2 separate regions of the Homo sapiens genome follow, and region 1 is linked to region 2. The links are contacts of gene promoters, found by promoter capture Hi-C in blood cells and fetal thymus (Javierre and others, 2016). All regions are on one chromosome and are shown on one strand. The core of a region is centred on a gene start or on the middle of the fragment in contact, and the rest is flanking DNA. Distances in the headings are between cores, read along the strand shown.

Region 1 (6,932 bases), core at 3,326-5,825, 4.9 Mb before region 2:
TATCTTCCTCGTTTTTATGACTGAAGTAATGGCAACAGATGAGTGTCATCTGATTAATTTTATTAACATTTATTCACAAGTCAATTCACAGTTTTTCTTTTTCATAGCCTATTTCTAAGAGTATTCCTCCTATGCAGCTCTTACTCTGCTCCCTTAACTCATCAGTATTAATGATTTCTAAGATTCGAGGGAAAGAAAAAAAATACACATATATATGTATCAAGAAAAAGAACCCTGTATGAATGCCTGATATTTAGGTCAAACTCACCCACCCACACTGTGATCCTAAGTACCACGAAAGAGATGGCACTCTAGGCACATAAAGTACTTATTTCTAGAGGGCTTACTAACAAGGTTTTGTTCTTTCTTAAAAATATTCTCTTTAAATTAAGTGCTATGACATACCTGTATAAAAGAAGTCAATTTTATTAGCTTCCTAAAACTCTCCACTAACATAAAAAAAATAAAGAGTTTAAATAGAAAACTCATTAAAGTAATAATGACAATTTGGTTACATAGTGGAGACCTCATTTGAATCCCATTTCTTTTAGATGTCATTTAAAAATACTAGTTAGGTAAGTGGCTTGTTAAGTAAGCAAAAGTTTGTGTAATTTTCCATCTCTTCTACTCAACTATTATTTATTCATTGTTTATTAAACAAGTAAAACATTCACATAGGACCAAGTTAAAGTTTTAAAAAGTAAATCTCACCCCCATACCTTTCCCCAGCTCCACTTCTGAGGTAACCACAGTTAACAAGTTCTAGCACACACTTCCAAAGATATTCAAAGCATGTATTGTGTTATAAATTAATCAAAGAATTATTTTCCACTTGTTTACATATGCTAAAATTCAGTGATGAAATGGATCTTTTCTACTAAAATAGTGAAAAGGTAGCAGCAATAAAGCTGATGAAAGGTCACAAATGAGCCCTGAAGCAAAATTTAAAAGGCAATCCCCATACAGCCACCAGAGGCCTGTATAGGTACTATAAGCACAAAGAGGGAAGGAGGCTTGCCCAGAAACTTTAGACGGGATTAAAGGTTTGTGCGTGATCTAGGCCATTACTAACATCATTATAACTTTCAAACTTTAGCTTTCAAACTTTTCCATTTCATCAACAAAAGGGTAATAGAATAAAATAAATACCTTCTAGAAAGAATTCAAATGTTTGATTCAGATGAGGAAAAGCTGAAACACAGTGGTAAGAAATATCCTCAGACCAGGCACCGTCCCAGCATTGTGGGAGGCTTAGGCAGGAAGATCCCTGGGGACGAGGGACTCGTGACCAGCCTGGCCAACATAGACCTTGTCTCCACAAAAAATGTAAAAAATAGCCAGGAATGGTGTCACATGCCTGTAGTCCTAGCTACAGGAGGCTGAGGAGGGAGAGCTGCTTGAGCCCAGGAGTTAAGAGGTTGCAGTGAGCTATGATCACACCACACCGCACTCCAGCCTGGGCGACAGAGCCAGACTCCCTCTTTCCCTTAACAAAAAAAAAAAAAGTATCCTCAATTCACATAGAGCAACCAGAGGCCACAATAAATTACATATTTTACATCTTGATAAAGAATGAATTTCATCAACATGGAGAGCATTCAAAATAAAGAGGCACCTAAAAAATGTAAAAAATTGCTGTTTTAAGAATCCCTCCCTATGGTCAATTATTAAATGTTTAATACATGATCACGAGTTTTTGAGCTTTTTTAAATGCCAGTTTCCAATAACCTTTAACAACATAACCCCATATTTACTTTTCTTGTGAACAAAGGCATATCATTCTGAGTGGCAGCCGTGGCAGAGGGGCAACTGTGTCCAAAAATACCTGATGGCTAATAGTTCCAGTGTGATAACGTCGGAGAATACTCCAATATTTAACTCCTGTTTAAATTTCTAAATAAAATATTACCCAGGTTATTTAATACTCGATTTGAGTTTATTGGGGTCTCTCCTAGAAGGGCCTTCCAATTCCAATTGGAATCCTTTTTCTTAACCATATAATAAGTAGAAAACCATAAGTTCAGTTAAGCACCTACTCATCCCACCCAGGAAAAGTTTCAACTTCGTAGCGAGGGCACAATAACCTCAACTTTTAGCCAACTGCAACCTAAGCTCCTCACCACCCTGCCTCTCTGGGGCTCACTGCAGAGAACATATAGAATGCAGCACAAAGGAGAACGCGTTTCTTCCCCCCGTGAGCAGGAGGTCGCCTCGGGTGGTCGCAGAGGTGCTAGAGGTTCAGGGCTTCTGCAGGTGCCAGTTAGGGGAAGGAGCACAGCCTAGGGGGGAGAAAGTGGTCCCCCCGCCTCCGACGCCTTCGCCTGGCCAGGTGGACCTGCGAGACGGAAAGCTTCCCCAGCGCCTCTGCGTCACCCCGGGCCCACCGCGCAAGGCCCAGGCCGCGTGACGCAAGAGCCCGTCCAAACCCGCCGGACGTCTGGCATCCCAGGAGCTCCATGTTGGAGCCAGGGTGTCAAAGGCGGCCAGTGACGGCACGGGCTCAACTCCCCGTTCTTCCCCACCCGTGGTCGGGGAGAGATCGGGCGAGATCGCCGCCGAGAAAGGAACTCTGACAATGGTTCCTTTCCCGCCCAGCTCCCGGTCAGCCCCTGTCCCGACACACTCTCAGGCCCAAGGACCCGTTCCTCCCTGCCCCCACGGCCGGTGCCCAAGAGTCCGGTTCGCACGCCAGATCTAAATCGCGCGAGGAGCAGCGCCCAGGGCACGCTGGGAATTGTAGTTCAGTAGCCAAACCACGCACCCTGGAAATGCAAATGTGTACATCAGAGAAAGAACTACAACTCCCACCGTGCCGAAGCATGGAAGACTCGCCAGCCTGGCCGGCAACTGGGATGCCGGCGGCGGGGATACCCCTTACCTGCTGTCGCCGCCGTCGCTGCGGCTGCTCCTGACCCGCCGCCGCCAGCACTGCTACCGCGGTGGGGAGTGTTCCGCTTCTTGTTCTTCGGCATCGTGGGACGCCCGGTGCCGCCCAGAGTCGGAGCTTAGCGAGGATCAGCCGATGGAGCTGCACTTTTTACTCGTGCGTCTGTGCGGCGGGCGGCTGAGAGGCGAGTCTTCGGCTAACAACAGAGTCGAGAAGCGGCGGGGGTAAGAGTGGGCGGTGGCGGCAGCAGAAATCCCCGTGAAGAGCTGTGATCGAAAACGATACATGTTTCTCTCTAGCGCGGGAGCTAAGGCGGGGCAGGGGAGGCCACGACGCCTTAAGTAGCAATACCGCCACCTGACGTCACTCTGTGGGCGGGGCTTGAGCGCTTCCCAACCAATCCCTGCACACCTCCCCACTGGACGCCTCCGTCGGGCGGGGCGCGGATCCTACCTACAAATCCCATGCGGCCAGTCTTCCGTCCGCGCCCAGGGAGCCTGTCTTCGTGGCCTCACTGAATTCTGGGAAACGTAGTAAGGCTGGGGCCGGGGCCTCCTCCCAGCCGTCTCTTCCCAACGGGCTTTTCTGCCCACTTGCTTTTCTCCTGGTGACCCCACCCCTGCCTCGGCGCGCCCCCGCCTTGGAACTGGGTGAGGTAGGCACCGGCGATGCACAGTGGGGCGAGTATGCCCTATGACGAGAGTCGGCTTCCAGCTGGCAGCTATGCAATCACCTTTGCTTCTCTTTCTCCGGAGGCTGGTGTTCTCCTTAACCTTTCCCCTACTTCCCTGCGGCACCTGCCAGGCACGCAGCCTTACCTCTCCTGGGTAACATTTCCATGGTTTTAGTTTTAACTAGTTCCATGAACTACTTAAGCCATCATCAGTACTGTACCTGTAATTGGACCGTGGTTCAGGGTTATGTGCCCCCCATCCCCCCCCCCCCCCAAAAAAAGGGATGCTTTCGTCTACTTAGTTGTGGAGTTCGTGTATATCTCAGATTCTAGACTAGGAATATATGACGATTCAGCGTTGTGGGTTTCTATACAAGAATGTGTCCCTTGACAATACTACCTGCCAGTTCTGAGAATTTCACAGCTGGTAAAACAAACACAAGTTATACAGATCAATAATCGCAGTGCTGCCTTTTTTCTCAAGGCACTCCTAGATCTCTGTCTTCCTTGTTAGGACATTTGTCTAGTATTTAGAGCCTGTTATTAGGTTCATATACTATGCTTATGACAGATCAAAGTCCCTGACTCACCTCAATGTAGGTGAGTCATCCGCCACTCCACCTCTCAGCTGAGCTCTATTCTATTTTCAATTGCCTGTAGCAAATTTCCACCAGAATGTTCCACTTGTGCCTCAACCCAACATCTCTGAAACGAATACTATATTTCCTTCTTCCTGTCTTCCCTTTGTTCACTGTACTATTTATTATCCTCCCATATGTTAAATTCCAAAACTCAAATTCATAGTCTTTTTTCCCTTTGATGCACCACCCCCTCCCCACCCGCAAAGCAATTAGTTTTAAAATAGCACTCTTAAATTCCTGTCCTATTCTGTGATCACATGTGACCTCAGTTCATGCCTGGGCATTTTAAGCGATCTCCCAGTCTTTTCATCCATGTTTCATGCACAGTAATGCTGCCAGATTTATTTGTGTGTTCCCTATTTTACTAATCCACCTGCTTTAATAGTTGCTCAAAAACATTCCATGGCTCCCATGACTAACTTTAAATGCCAACCCTTTTAGCCTGGCCCTGACTCCCTTTCCAGCCTCATCTTTCACTGCTTCCTCATACAGTTCTTGTTCTTCAGCCAAACAGGACTGCTTTTCATTTCCAATACACGGCTCTCTTCTCCTACCTCCATTTCCTCATTCATATTCTTTCCTGTTCTTGTAATGCCTTTCCTCCCATCTTCACCTTAAGAAATTTTATCCACCGTTCAAGATGTAGCTCATGCTGCCACCTTCCTGAAGCCTCCAGCCAGAAGTTTCTTCCTCCTCACAACTCTTTGACACTCATCCTAATAATGCCCTAATGGCACTTATTACCTCCCCACACGGCCTACTCAAAGATGCTATTTAATGGGCAACATTTCAGGGTTGCTTTTACTTTGTTTAATCCTGAAGCAGCCAGTAAACTGCACAGAGCACAGAAACCAAATACGGAGGCAGGTTGTGGGGGAGGAAGCAGCTCACACTGACTCCTTGTATCTAGAGGCACACTGCAACTCAGTGACAGGGCCTATACAGAATGAGATGTCTCACAGAATTGTAGACTCAATAACTTTTATAACCCTAGGCTCTTCACCATCCAGAAACAATTTATACTATACATAAGGCAACAGTTTTGCCACTCTGGAGTCACATCACCTAGGCCTAACATCCAGGTTCCAGCCCTGGAAACGTGTGCTTTGCATTTGGGGCAGGGGCTTTTTTTCCAAATCCCTTCACATCCACTTAGTCGTTCTGCGGCAGGCCTGGCCATGGCCCACCACATCATATACGTACTTGTTTTACATTTATTTGTGAATACATCTGTCATCTCATGAAATTATCAGCTTCCCAAGAACAAAAATCTTTTCCTCTTTTTAATTTCTTTTCTTTTTTTCTTACTTTTCTTTCTTTTTTTTTTTTTTTTAAATCTACAGGCCCAGGAACTTGAAAAAATCTTGCTGTATCCCTCATGGCACAAAAGGAAGTGTTACATTTGAAATTGAAATTATAGTCAGTATATATATAGTTAAATGAACATTTAAGAAATAATTGTTGACTAGATTTTTCTGGATCAAGGAAAGGGAGAAACTTATGTATCACTACATACATACATTCTGGATCAAGGAAAGGGAGAAACTACTTATCACTACAAACATGAAGTACAGCCTTCAGTATAATGAATTCTGAGAGATACTGTACTTTTGATAAAATTACCTTACTATAGTTTTATGCCTGCAGTTTAGCTCCAGACCAGTGCAAACATCACAAAGATGTAGCCCACCTCCTCATGGGACAGTGGTCTTCAGCTCCACATACTATTTTGCAATATGTTTAAAGAAATTAGAAGACTCCAAACATCAAGTCACTAAATGATTACAAATACCAGAAAGGAAGGGGAAGCACGAAAGGGAACAGGAAAAAGGGCTTTCTCCAGACTTTGCCTTTTTCTTCAGGAAAGACCACACTCCCTAGAAACTTCCACCTACATGTTGACCAGAACTGTGTCACAGGATGATCCCTAGCTGCAAGGAAGTTTAGAACACAAGTATTTTCGGTTGGGCTCATTCGCAAACAAAATTGAGGTTCTGTTGTTAAGAATGAAGGGGAAACCATGGATATAAGGTAGACAAATAGCAATGTCTGCCTCATATATCAGGAGGCAAAATACTCTCATGCTCTAATAAATAAATATCACATATTTGTTACCAACATGACATTATGTGCTGCCTCAACATTTAAGTCATTGTAAAATATATTCTTCTTTTACAAAACAACTTAGTTTAACATTCCATGGAACAGAAATCACCATCAGGGTAAGTATACTCAAATGTTGCAAAAATAAATCTTACATTAATCAGAATTTAGGGGCACGCCTGAGAAGAGTTCTAAGTTCTCATTGATGACTTTGATTCAAGAACAAGTAATAAAGATAAGATTCAGTATTCATACCTTCCTTGAAGGCATAAACATGAAAGGTTTTCTTTGAATGACTTTAGTCATGGCCTCCTTGGGATTCTCTGCATAGCACTGAGCAGAAATAATACCTCCCAGATCCTCCATGTAGGGCTTGTCGGAATCTGTTTCTTGCCTGTATCTCCCAAATCACTTCTCTCATCACCTAACACAGTCCCTTTCCTAATGCCATATCAAACTCTTAGCAGGTCTCTGAGCTCACCACTCTCAAGCTTCCAGGCCTTACCTAGGTTTGGCACATACCTCTCTCTCCATATTGCATCTCCTGCCCCTCTTTTCATCCACTGCATTTCAGCCACACTGGTCTTTGCCAACTTAAAAACACAAAGTTCATTCCCCACTTAAGACT
Region 2 (7,054 bases), core at 4,394-6,893:
TGGATTGGGAGACTCAACCTAGTAAGAAAGTCAGTTCTTCCCAAGTTGAGGTATAGGTTTCACACAGTTCTTATGAAAATTCCAGCAGGGTTTTTTGCAGAGATAGACAAGGTCATTCTAAAATTTATTTGTAAAGCAAGGGAACTAGAATAGCTAAAACAATTTTGAAAAAGTAAATAAATTGGGAAGAACCAGTCTACCTGATTTCAAGACATATTATAGAGCTATATAGTAAAACTGTGTGGTATTGGTGGGGAAAAAGATACAAGATCAATGGAACAAAACAGAAAATGCTGATTTCTCACAAAGAAGCAAAGAATTAGCGGAGAGATAGCCTTTCTTTTTTTATTATTATTTTTGAGACGGAGTTTTACTCTTGTTGCCCAGGCTGGAGTGCAGTGGTGCGATCTTGGCTCACTGCAACCTTCACCTCCCAGGTTCAAGCGATTTTCCTGCCTCAGCCTCCCAGCAGCTGGGACTATTGGCATGCGCCACCACGCTGACTAATTTTTGTATTTTTAGTAGAGATGGGGTTTCACCATGTTGGCCAGGCTGGTCTCGAACTCCTGACCTCAAATGATCTGCCCACCTCGGCCTCCCAAAGTGCTGGGATTAGGATTTGATGGCGTGAGCCACTGTGCCTGGCTGATAGCCTTTCAAAAATGATGCTGGAGTAATTGGACATCCATAGGCAACCTAACCTAAGCCTCACACTTACATAAAAGTTAATGCAAAATTGATCATGGACTTAAATGCAAAACATAAAACTATAAAACTTTTAGGGAAAAAAACTTAGGAGAAAATATTCAGGATCTGGAGCTACATAAAGGTTTCTTATACTTGACATCGAAAGCACAATTTACAAAAGGAAAAATTGATGTTAGACTTCATTAAAATGAAACTTTTGTTCTGCAAAAGATCCTGTTAGGAGCATGAAAGACAAGCCATATACAGGGAGAAAATACGTGCAAATCACACATCTGACAAAGCAGAATATATATCTAGAGTATAATAGAAAACAAGAAAACAAACAAATGGACAAAAGCACTTGAATAGATACTTCTACAAAGACAACATACAAATGGCCAATAAACACACAAAAAGATGTTCAGCATCATTAATCATTAGGGAAATGCAAATTAAAACTGCAATGAGATACCACTTCACACCCATTAGGATGATTATAATAATAAAATAAAAACTCCCAGAACATAACAAGTGTTGATGAGGATGTGGAGAAATTAAAACTCTTGTTCACTGCTGGTGGTAAGGTAACATGGTGCAGCTGCTATGGAAAGCAGTACAGTAGTTGCTCAAAAAATTAAACATAGAATCACCATATGATCCAGCAATTCTACATCTGGGTACATAGTCAAAAAGAATTGAAAGCAGGGTCTCAGAGACCTGTTACGAACCATGGGTATTTGTATATGGGTATTTGTACACCCATAGTTCATGACAGTATTATTTGCAGTAGCCAAAAGGTGGAAGTTATCTTGTGTTCTATCAATATATGAATGGATATCAACAGATGAATGAACAAAATATACATAAAATGGAATATTATTCAGCCTTAAAAAGGAACAAGTCTGATATATGCTACAACATGAATGAACCTTGAGGATGTTATGCTGCATAAAATATTAGCAAAATAAATCCAGTTCTGAACAAATACGTATAAGACTTATATGAGGTACCTAGAGTAGTGAAGTTCATAGAGGGAGAAAGTAGAATAATGGTTGCCAGGGGCTGCTGTGAGGAACAGTGGAATGGGGAGTCACAGTTTAATGTGATAGAATTTCCATCTTCTAAGATGAAAAGAGTTTTAGAGATCAGATGCACAACAATGTGAATGTAATTAACACTGCTGAACTGTATACTTAAAAATGATCGAGAGGTAAATTTTATGTTACGTATATTTTATAACAAACTTCTAAAAAAACTCAATAGTAAAAGAGCAAACAATCCAATTAGAAGATGAGCAAAAGATACGAAGAAATATTTCTTCGAAAACTGAACACACAACTACCTTAGGACCCATAATTGCACTCCTATTTGTCCCAAGACTTAAGTTCACATAAAAATCTATACATCAATACTTATATCTATTTAATATCCATTATATACTTATAGGTAGGAGTTACAACCACCACCATTTTTATAGATATAAAAAGTGCAGCTCAGAGAAGTTAATTGTTTACTCAGGATCACATATATACTAGGCAAGTAGTAGCATCATGACTCAATTCTAAGTCATGATTCCAAAGCTAAGAGTTTGAAGTTCCCATATGGTGGGTGGTCTTACAGTACTTTTAAAAAGTCAGAGCATAAAAGGGAAATTTCATCTTAGTTCATTAATCATTTTGCAACACTTACTTTGAATATCGAACCATTGGGGCACAGACTTTTACCAGCTGTCCAGAATGAAACATTTCTATGGGATCTTTTTTTCTTTCCTGACATATTGTCGTTTGCATGCAGTCACTCTTCATTAATACAGATATGTTTCAAATCTGAAAAAGACAATAAGCTTGTATAGAGAAAATATGTTTTCACTATATTAATTCCATTCTAACAATTTCAACTGCCAACAACATATATTTTTTATCAGGCTTGTGGGCTCAGAAATTTTTTTATTAATAGCTTATTTTCACAGTATCCAATATGATACTATAGAATGCTGCCTCTATTTGTAAGATAAATAGATGTGGAAAACTACCCAAGATAGTTGTGGAAACACAAGATGCAGAAAACGAGATTTTTTTTTTTTCCCTAGTTTACCATGTTGTAAGTTTTCATGTTATTTAAAAATTTTTTACATGTTACTTTGTTGGGATTGGTAAGCCAAGAAATTTGGTTTGAATTATTTTATATATGATACTCGACTGGCATTTGGAAATATCTTGTTTTATTCAGGAAAGTTAAATGGCATTAATAGAGCAACTCTTAAGTAGTCAGTGTTTCAAAAGATATGCTGGTGCTTTTATTGTAATTCTTGAATCCTGTTCTGTCTGTGAATCAGAAGATAAACAAACGTTAATTATTTTTAAAAATTTTAATGTGATATTATCTAGTGAAAATTTCAATTATAATTCTACAATTGCATTGTAAATCACTTTTATACCCCAAGAGGTACAGGTACGAGTGATGAAATTATGGAGTTTGTAAATGTTTTACATTTGCTATACTTAAAATCCTACTATTTCACAGTGTTGGCTACTTTTCATATTCCAGTCCTTGGCCTCAGTAACTTAGAAACAGGTATGTATGAAGGAAAAATGAAGCAGAAAATAACAACAACAAAAAAAAGAATCAGATATGGGCCAACTTTAGAATGGTCTAATTGCTCAAACTTTAGAGTCTTTAACCTTTAGGCAAGGAGTTGAAATTAAAAATAGCCAAGGTACTTAAGGATGTCAGGATCTTGCAAGAAACCGCTGGAAGCACCAATATTTAAGTAACAGAGGAAAAGGGGAGAGCAAAAGAGACTGAAGATGAACTTTGGAGCTGGGAGGAATAAACCTAAAGAGTGATACTCAGAAAACGAGAGAGACCATTATGAAGGAAGGAGGGGATAGGTATCTTAAACATCAAAGTAAGGCAAAAATAAAGCGCAATGGCAACAAGGTCATTAGTGATTTTAGCAAGAATTACTTCATTTTTATCCACTCCTGCAGTCATAGTAAATGGCATACAGAAGGCCTCAATATTTATTTGCTGAAAGAATAAATCAGTAGGTTTCAGGGGACTGGGCTCACACCTGTAAACTCAGCATTTTGGGAGGCCAAGGTGGGAGGCTTGCTTAAGGCCAGGAGTTTGAGACCAGCTTGGGCAATATAGTGAGACCCCCATCTCTAAAAAAATTATAAAAATCAGCTGGGCGTGGTAGCAAGCGACTGTGATCCCAACTACTCCAGAAGCTTGGGCAGGAGGATCCCTTGAGCCCAGGAGGTTGAGGCTGCAGTGAGCCACGATCCTGCCACTGCACTCCAGCCTGGGTAACAGAGCTAGACCCCAACTCAACAAAACAAAACAATCAGTAGCTTTCTACCTTAGTTGTACACTACAATGACCCGAGGAGCTTTTAAGAATTAGCATGCCCAAGCCATACCCTAGACCAATTAAATCCAAACGTCTGGGCTCAGGATGCAGGCATCAGTGTTTTTATTAAAGCTCTTCAGGTGATTTCAATGTGCAGCTAAGCTTGGAATTACTGGAATAAGTAAATCCAAAGATTCCAAAGCACCTGGTACAATTGTTTGTTTAAATGGGTTCCTACCTTACCTATTAACTCCTTTTAGAATATGGATTGAGTCTTATGTTTGTAAACTCATGAGAGCATGCAGAGTAGAGGGGTCAAAACTTTCGCTGTATGAATGAATATTACTCACTCTTCTAAAATCTTCCACTGGGGGGAATAAAGCCAAGGAAGGAAAAACAATTCCTAATTCACAAGTAATGAATGAATCACCCCTATTCCCATCATGACTAAGATCTTACATACTAGGGAAAATCCTCTGAGACAAAGAGAGCATAATGCAGTGTAGCATAAGACTTGCTTACCTGAGGTGTTATGAGTATGAAATGCATTGAGTTATAAAATACTTAGAACAGCGATAAGCACAGGATAAGTAATAGCACCTTTTTGAAACAGAATGTAGAAAACCACGTAGCTCTGGAACTGGATAAAATTGGTTTCCTGGATACATACCTACTGTACAAAATGAAAAAGTCATCTTCCAGCTTCTTTTTGCGAAGAAGCTTAAGACTGTCTTGCATACTTGTGGTTGCCTGACCCTGTTAATTTATCAGTATTTATCTTAGAAGAAAGAAATCTAGGTCAAAAACGCGAACGTATTAGTAAAGAAGATACAATGGGAACCAACCTGATGCTCTTACAGCGTCAATACTGTTAGTTGAGATGTGGACCATCTATCAGTTTGTAATTAAGAAAAAGTCTGGCACGTGACTGAAACTGAGGAAGAAGTAGAAAAGGCAAAAGGTCAAAGGTCTCATGGGAAGGAAGGAGGGTAGAGACAGTGAGTTTTATTGGTCCTTTTATGGTTCAGACTTCCTTCTTCATCGACTCTCCCTAATTCTCTTCACTGTTCATCCCCAGCAACTTTTCTTCCCAAGCATTTCCTGCGGGCTTTTATTACCCCAGGAGTGCCAATCAAGGCGTGGAACAGATAAAGCTGTGTAGCAACTAACGCGTGACTCTTGTGAGTGTGGAGGGCAAACGAAGCTCCCTGAAACCTCCGCTCTGCTCTCCTGCCTTACGCCGCGCGGCCCCTGTTCTGAGGTTTAATACTTGCTTCACAGATAAGCGCTGCGGCCACGTTCCGGTGCCCACCTTCTCCTTGGCTAGGGCACGACGCCAGCCCAGGGGGCGCGGCCCTGAGCTGCTGCGAGAGACAGCTGAAAGCGCCGGCCCGACGGCCTTGGCTCCCTCGGTGCGCTGGGCGCAGAGCACTCGGACCCTGGGCGCCCACTGCTCGAGTACCTGCGCGGCTCCTAGCCAGGCTTAGCCCAGGCGCGGGCTGAGAGTCAGTTCGCCAGGTGGGCCTGGAGCCATGGGCTGGGTGGGCGGGCGGCGCCGGGATTCTGCGTCACCACCTGGGCGGAGCCGTTCTGCTGCTGACGACATCAACCCGGCACCTGCCAACATGGAAGGTGGCGGCGGCAGCGTCGCTGTAGCTGGCCTCGGAGCTCGAGGCTCTGGAGCGGCTGCAGCTACAGTCCGGGAACTTCTGCAGGACGGTAAGGAGACGGGGTCTGACCAGGTCGTGGGGTTGGGGGTCTGCGCTGCTCCGCACCTGGACAGCGAGGTGGACCCAACCCGTTGCTTTGCAGAAAGTTTTCCAGTCTGGACGTGACCACTCCCCTCCGCCCGGCCCCCTGGCTTGGGTACTGTTCTAGCCAACCTATTTACTCTGGGACTGGCTCCCTCTTTTCTGGAGTCTTGGGGACACTTGGTTTCTGTGTGTTCCTCATTTCAACTCGACCCCCCCCCCCCCCATGCCTCCAGCTTCCCTGAAGTTTCGGGAGCCCAAACCCTGTGGACCGCGTTGGCAGCCACCGGCTGCTGCCGCAGTTCTTGACGAAGGGGTGTAGCGTTCGAGCTCTTCAAAAGTGTAAGCTCTAGAACAGACGGCAGACGCATAATGAAATAGGGCCTTGTTTTAAAGTAGAGCTGGAAACGCTTACTCCTTTAACAAATGGACTGTACAGGTGACCCCTCTTACAGGCTGGTTTTTTTTTTCCTCCTTTATGAGGCAGTTATCTACAGTGACACGTGGGGGAGGGTTTGAGACATTTGTTCAGGTTGGGATTAACCATTTGTACAGAATCTAGCAGTCAGATTTTATTGCTAGTCAGTTTGGAGAGAAGTTGCCCAAAATAAGAAAAGTTAGATATAATATACTTGAAAAGCATATTCAGTTGTGTCAATCCAGTTACCATGTCCCGAATCTCTTATCCTTCAGAATAAAGTTCACATTTATAAGCATAAAAATAAAGCCCTTCTCACCTGTTCTTAATTTTTTCTCTAGTGGCCATCGCATTCTACCTTGTACTAAAATCATTTGTATACTTGTTTTAATCTCTTCTGTATTGCAAACTTTTTTTAATATCCCACAGTGTGAATAGCAGTATCTTGCATACAGTAGGTGCAGAATGTTTTTTAAATTCATCATCGCAGTTAGAAGCACATGCACACATTTGAAGACCGAAGTGGGTAATAAATGAAATAAAGTTCCAAATTATTGTTTATTTTCTCTGACTGTTAAATATTTTATTGTCATCCTGAATTACGTGCCTTTTCATGATAATTTATGTACTTTTGTCAAAAGCAATGATGTTTTCTGAACTATTTCATGTTGGAAACTCTAGGACCGGGTCTCTGTCTAAAACTTGGCTAAACTGAATTTAAACTTTAGATACAAGGCAGAGACCCTGATATATTTGCAGTTGCTCCTGATACACGTGCAATTTTTGCCCTCAAGTAGTTCACCATCTAGTAGAGGAAATAATCTTGTAGACTATAAAGGTAGGT

The links. Contacts are between HindIII fragments. The CHiCAGO score rates a contact against its expected background, and 5 or more counts as called.
Region 1: a contact is called between a fragment that was not itself captured here and the fragment with the promoter of COG5 in region 2, in 1 of 17 cell types (fetal thymus). The highest score is 7.9, in fetal thymus.

The regions. Positions count from the first base shown.
Region 1 is chr7:112,446,729-112,453,660 of GRCh38, reverse strand. IFRD1 (interferon related developmental regulator 1) reads right to left here and starts at 3,201. Exons shown (of 12, transcript NM_001550.4): 1 at 2,879-3,201. The coding sequence starts at 2,972. LOC128031837 reads right to left here and starts at 3,174. Exons shown (of 1, transcript NM_001414739.1): 1 at 3,016-3,174. The coding sequence starts at 3,174. The coding sequence ends at 3,016. RefSeq lists enhancers at 2,357-2,476, 2,597-2,646, 2,887-3,176, 2,476-3,293, 3,294-4,111. The HindIII fragment of the contact is 4,445 bases long and covers 2,353-6,797 here.
Region 2 is chr7:107,562,509-107,569,562 of GRCh38, reverse strand. It overlaps COG5 (component of oligomeric golgi complex 5), which reads left to right and starts at 5,643. Exons shown (of 22, transcript NM_006348.5): 1 at 5,643-5,760. The coding sequence starts at 5,667. DUS4L-BCAP29 (DUS4L-BCAP29 readthrough) reads right to left here and starts at 5,592. Exons shown (of 13, transcript NR_163941.2): 1 at 5,354-5,592; 2 at 4,887-4,975; 3 at 2,377-2,513. DUS4L (dihydrouridine synthase 4 like) reads right to left here and starts at 5,592. Exons shown (of 8, transcript NM_181581.3): 1 at 5,354-5,592; 2 at 4,887-4,975; 3 at 2,377-2,513. The coding sequence starts at 2,492. RefSeq lists enhancers at 3,866-5,065, 5,596-5,715 and silencers at 5,416-5,515, 5,554-5,764. The HindIII fragment of the contact is 2,647 bases long and covers 4,764-7,054 here.